2 separate regions of the Homo sapiens genome follow, and region 2 is linked to region 1. The links are contacts of gene promoters, found by promoter capture Hi-C in human tissues and cell types (Jung and others, 2019). All regions are on one chromosome and are shown on one strand. Each heading gives the region's core, a stretch centred on a gene start or on the middle of the fragment in contact. The rest is flanking DNA. Distances are from core to core; before and after follow the strand shown. Region 1 has its middle 16 kb from the start of OR7C2. Region 2 holds the start of CYP4F3 (cytochrome P450 family 4 subfamily F member 3).

Region 1 (2,967 bases), core at 191-2,690:
GATGAGGTACATGGATAAGAACACTCCAAAGAGAAATCGTTATGCTCTGGTTTCTCTTCAAATTGTATAAATCTTTTGCCTTTTACCAAAGAGAAATCGTTGCAGTCTGGGTTCTTCTGAAAATCCCAGAAGTCGAAATTCTGAAATTCGTGTATCATTCTCTGGTTCCATGTGGTAGAGGTGACTATAAAAAAAAAAAAAAGAGAGAGAGAGAAAATACATGACATAAGCATGCTTTTTTCACCCATCAGAAAAGCTATTATTTATATCCTACAGTCAGCAAGTTAATTTCTATATTTTGTGTGTGAATCTGGTCTACTTTATGAGATCTCCCATCCCATCTCTGCTTAGGAATTCCTTTCCCATGATGCTCAACTTTTCCCCAAATGGTCATTTATTTAAAAACTTTGCCGGGTGCGGTGGCTCACACCTGTAATCCCAGCACTTTGGGAGGCAGAGGTGGGCGGGTCACCTGAGGTCGGGAGTTCAAGACCAGCCTGACCAACATGGAGAAAACCCATCTCTACTAAAAATACAAAGTTAGCCGGATGTGGTGGTGCGTGCCCGTAATCCCAGCTACTCGGGAGGTTGAGGCAGGAGAATCATTTGAACCTGAGAGGCAGAGGTTGCAGGGAGCCAAGATGGCGCCATTGCACTCCATCCAGCCTGGGCTACAAGAGCAAAACTCCATCTCAAACAAAACAAAACAAAACAAAACAAAAACCAATACTTTAATGATAAATTCTTTCATGGATTTGAGGAATTTAAATTGAGTGTTGTCAACGTTCCAGGCTCTGTCTAGACAATGAGTGAACAGTGCTGAAAAACAAAAGTTCCTACAGTGAAGTATGGAGAAGAATACAAGTAAATCATATACTGTGTCAGATGGTAACCAGGGCTAGCAAGAAAAAGAAAGAAGGTAAAAAGGCGAGGGTGGATAGAGGATGTTAATTTTCCTAGGTGTCCAGAGAATACTAGCAGTCAAGGTGATAGGTGCCCATCAATAGTGGATTGGACAAAGAAACTGTGGTACTTATACACCATGGAATACTAGGCAGCCATAAAAAAGAATGAAATCATGTCCTTTCCAGCTACATGGATGAAGCTAGAGGCCGTTATTCTGAGCGACCTAATGCAAGAACAGAAAACCAAATATCGCATGTTCTCACTTATAAATGGTAGCTAAACATCGAATATACGTGAACACAAAGATGGGAACAATTGACACTGGAGACCGCTGGACAGAGGATGGAGGGAGGGGGATGTGAGCTGAAGAACCATCTGTTGGGTCCTATGCTTACCTCCTGAGTGATGGGATTGTTAGGACCCGAAGCCTCAGCATCACACAATTTACCCGTGTAACAAACCTGCACATGTACCCTTTAATCTGTAAGAAAAGCTGAAATTTTTAAAAAGAGAAATGAGACCTCAAGGAAGACAGGGCGGGAGCCATGAGGATATCTGGGAATGTGTGTGCCCAGCAGAAAGAATGGCCGGTGCAAAGGTGTAGAGGAAGGTTTCAGATGTTCAAGGCCAACGAGGAAGCCAGTGTGGCAGGGAAATCTGTGAGAGGTAAGTGATGGGAGATGGTGTCAGAAGATGTTGCACTATGAGGTGACTTCATTGCTGCTGAAGCTTCAAAATACAAGAAGTCCCTCTGCCCAGATTTTGTTTGGTTTGGTTTGGTTTTGAGACAGAGTCTCACTCTGTCGGCCAGGCTGGAGTGCAGTGGCATGATGTGGGTTCACTGCAACCTCCACCTCCTGGGTTCAAGAGATTCTCCTGCCTCAGCCTCCCAAGTAGCTGAGACTACAGGTGCCTGCTACCATGCCCTGCTAAGATTTATATTTTTTGGTAGAGATGGGGCTTCACCATGTTGGCCAGGCTGGTCTCAAACTCCTGACCTCAAGTGATCCTTTTGTCTCGGCCTCCCAAAGTGCTGGGATTACAGGCGTGAGCCACCACGCCCAGGCTTGTCCTGATGTTTTCTATTTGCACTTTAATAAATTGGCTCCATGTCCCATGAATTGAAATGCATCCTTTGTTTATTTCCATATGCTGCCTTGCGTGCTGACCTCTGTATTCTGAGTCACCTTTTGGAATATATTGAGTCCAGGTCCCTTTACTTTTTTTTTTTTTTTTTTTTTTTTTGAGACGGAGTCTCGCTCTGTTGCCCAGGCTGGAGTTCAGTGGCGCGATCTCGGCTCACTGCAACTTCCGCCTCCCAGGTTCACACCATTCTCCTGACTCAGCCTCCCAAGTAGCTGGGACTACAGGCGCCCGCCACCACGCCCGGCTAATTTTTTTGCATTTTTAGTAGAGGCAGGGTTTCACCATGTTAGCCGGGATGGTCTCGATCTCCTGACCTCGTGATCTGCCTGCCTCGGCCTCCCAAAGTACTGGGACTACAGGCGTGAGCCACTGCGTCCCTCTACTCTTAAAAGGGATATCTCTACCTCATTTGTATGTCATATTCTTTTATGCCTAGGTCTTTGCAACTTTAATTATTTATCCATGTTGAAAACATTAAATTATTGCTACTTCATATCTTGTTTCAGTTAATTAGCAAGGCTCCTTTCAATTCTGTTTAATGATGTTATTTTGAAATCACTCTCCCCACTAAAGACAGACACACATATGCACAATTAGTACAGACACACACACAGGCACACACTTGAAGCTGAATGAGGACTCCTGGGACTGTGTTTATAGCAAGCTGTTCTCACCTCCAGTCACACCATTAATATTAGAGAGGAATGGAAATGAAGCAAGCTTTCAATATCAGATTATCTTTCCATTTTTTTGTATGGTCATGTTCTGTCTTCTGTTTAAAAAAACATAAAAAATTATAAAAATACAACAATTTTGCTTGATAAACATACAGAGGATAATTAAATAAAACCCAAGGGGGGAAAATCTAATAACCTCAGATAATTCCTGGGAGACTAGGAAGAAGAAATAGCTTGC
Region 2 (2,967 bases), core at 212-2,711, 720 kb before region 1:
ACAGTGGCTCCCACCTGGGAGAAGCTTCTGCACCAGGCTCTGTGCTAGTGCATCCTGTGCACCCTCCCACTTCACCTGTGGACACACCCATCAATCCTGCCATTTGCAATGAGCAGATTGAGACCACGTTCCGCAAAGGGGAGAGCAGGTCTAAGTCAGAGGGCAAGGTCTGGGGGAGGAGAAAGGTCAGGGAAGGCTTCTGAAAGGGGAAGTGAGTGGCCAACTTTTATGTGGGTTTGGCAACAGGACCCCATTGGGACATCTTACTGGGGAGGAACAAGATAAGAGGAAGGTGCCTCCGGATGTGGTGGAGGTGAGAGACAGCCCACACCTCTCCTCTGGCCCACCTATACCCTCATAAGAGGAAATAGGCCAGGTAGGGAGAGGACCCTGAACAGTGGGTACAGGAGGCCTCGAGTCCAGCAATGGAGAATGTGGGAACGCCAGGGGTTCACCTTTCTGTGCACCCAACCCCCTGCCCAAGAGCCCCGCAGAGGTGCATTAATGTGGAAAGACAGGCAGGAAAAGGATTCAACACAGGCCAAGAGTGGGAGAACAGGGAGGTGAGAAGGGCTTGGGTTGGCACCTCACAGAAATGAGTAAGCAGAGGAATGAGTAAGACGCCTCCCCTGCTTCTCTGCCACCCCAGACCCCAGCCCACCCCCTCTCACCTGAGCCTCATTCTTACCCCTCAGGAAGTCCATCCACCCTGAGACCCCAGACCCGTCCTGCTGCCACACTCACCAGGCCCAGGTGACCCAAGAACCAATTCCGTTTCGGGGGTTGCGGGAAACACCGGAGGCGGCAGCAGTTGTCATAGAAGGTATAGGTCCAGGCCAGGATGCGGGCCAGGAGCCAGGAGGCCCCAACCAGCAGCAGGAGCAGCCACGGGGATGCTGCCATTGGCCAAAGGCCCAGCGAGGACAGGCTCAGCTGTGGCATCCTGCAGGGCAGATGGGGTGGTGAGTGAGGTCCTGAGGCCCAGGGAAGGGCCCAGGGAGCTCCAGGGACAGTGGAGAGAGGCAGAGACGGGCAGTGCTGGAGATAGAACAGTAAGAGTAAACAGGGATGGATAAACAGGGGCTGAGGGGTAAAGTCCAGAAAGGCCCAGCCAAAACCAGCAACCAAGTGGCCTCCAGTTACCCGGTAAGCACTTAGATTGAGAAAGACAGAGAAACTGATTAAAGTCCAGAAAGGCCCAGCCTGAATCATTAGGACGTTGCCAGGGGCTTGGTTTCAGTTAGAAAACCACTCATCCTCCAAGCCAGCAACCAGGAGCTGCCTGGGCCTTGGGCAGCAATGGAGAATGTGGGAAGGCTGGGGCTCCCCTATGTGTGCGCCCAATCCCTTGCCCAGTGCCCATCTCCATCACAGGCTAGGATGCCCCAGGCCCACCACCCCCACCCTGGCACCTTCTGTCAGGAGCACCTTGTCCCACACAACCTCCTCTCCCCTTCTTCTGGGAGGTTTTTTCCCCTGGCCCCTGATGTAGGGAAGGCTGTGGGAGGCTAGGCTGGGCTGGGCTGGGCCAGCCAATCCCCACAGCCTGGGTGCCGCTCCCATGTCTGGGCAGCTGGCCAAAACCTGGGTGTGGGAGACCAGCTGGATGCAGAGGAACCAGCTCAGGGTGACACAGCACAGGCACTGGATCCTCAGGTCTCAGCACCTCCCACATAAGGTGGAGAGTAAGCCGAGAGGGGTCAGATAGAGTTTCCACTGTGTGACACCTGCTCTTAAAGAGCACCTACTGAGTGTGTGGCAGATAAAAGCATGAACTTGAGAGTTCAGGTGTCAAGCGAGCCAGGCCAGGCCAAGCCTTGTTCCAGATCATCTCCTGTGCTCCTCTCTAACCCTGGGCCGGTAGGACACCGTGTACCACTTCTGGATGCTGAATCAGGCAACCTGGAAGAGACAAGCCTCTATCCCCCTGCTGCTGGATGGAGTTCAAGTCTTGCCTCCAGGCAGTCCAGGGCCCTGTTGGAGACCTGACTGCTAGGAACGGGAACAAAGAATCCAGCCCCACTGAGGATTACCTGGGTCAGATTCTGGAGATTAAGAGCTCAGCTGGAAAAGCAAATCTGGAGGCCGGACTCAGTATAGGAGGACAGAGCGGGGACGTGGAGGGTTAGGATGAGAGGGAACGGATGGGGTCCAGGCAGGGGAAGGGCAGAGCCAGGGAACCATGAATGGAGTCCTCATTCTGCCTCATCCTTGCTCTGACTTTGGTCAGTACTGCCCCTCCTGGGTGCAGTCTTCCCATCTGGGAAATGGGATGTTCGATGAGGGCCTTAGCGGGGGACAATGAGGGCTCCTAAGAGGAGGGAGCCCCAAAAAGGAGTGAAGGGAAAGGGTGGCAACTAGCACTTGAGCTGCTGTGTGCCAGTCTCTACTCTGCACAAAGGCTGCATGGAAAGTACTTCTACTGTGTGCCAATACTCTAAATGAAGGGCAGCTACTGTGTGCCAGGTGCTAAATCCTGTCTACTCTGTGCCAAGTGCTTTCCATAAAGTGTGCCTACTGTGTGCCAGGTGCTCTACATTAACCCTGTATACTCAGTTCCTGATATTCCTCATAGAGTGCCTACTGTGTGCCACCTGCTCTACATAGTGAGTGCCTATTGAGTGCCACCCCCTGTATATGAAGAGTGCCCACTGAGCACCAGTTGCTGTCTACATAACACATGCCTACTGAGTGCCAAGTGCTCTACATAAACAGTGCCTACTGATACCACCTGCTCTATATGGTGACTTCCTACTGAGTGTTTCCTGATCTACATAAAGAGGGTCTATTGAGTGCTGCCTGCTCGAGTGTTGCCTGTGCTCCATAAAGTGTACCTACTGTGGGCTGCCTTCTGTACATAAAGGGTGCCTACTGAGTGCTGCTTGCTCTACATGAAGAGTTCCTACTCTTGCCTGCGCTACATAAAAAGTGCCTACTCAGTACCACCTGCAATACATAAAGAGTGCC

The links. Contacts are between HindIII fragments. The study calls those that stand out against the background at their distance.
Region 2: the fragment with the promoter of CYP4F3 here is called in contact with a fragment that was not itself captured in region 1 in 4 of the 25 tissues and cell types used here (dorsolateral prefrontal cortex, heart right ventricle, lymphoblastoid cells and 1 more).

Annotation. Positions count from the first base shown.
Region 1 is chr19:14,924,256-14,927,222 of GRCh38, reverse strand. No RefSeq gene overlaps it. Among named protein-coding and RNA genes, the nearest start is that of OR7C2, 16 kb to the left of the region's middle. The HindIII fragment of the contact is 7,045 bases long and covers 1-2,967 here.
Region 2 is chr19:15,639,391-15,642,357 of GRCh38, reverse strand. CYP4F3 (cytochrome P450 family 4 subfamily F member 3) reads right to left here and starts at 1,461. Exons shown (of 13, transcript NM_000896.3): 1 at 1,413-1,461; 2 at 745-943. The coding sequence starts at 942. The HindIII fragment of the contact is 9,363 bases long and covers 1-2,967 here.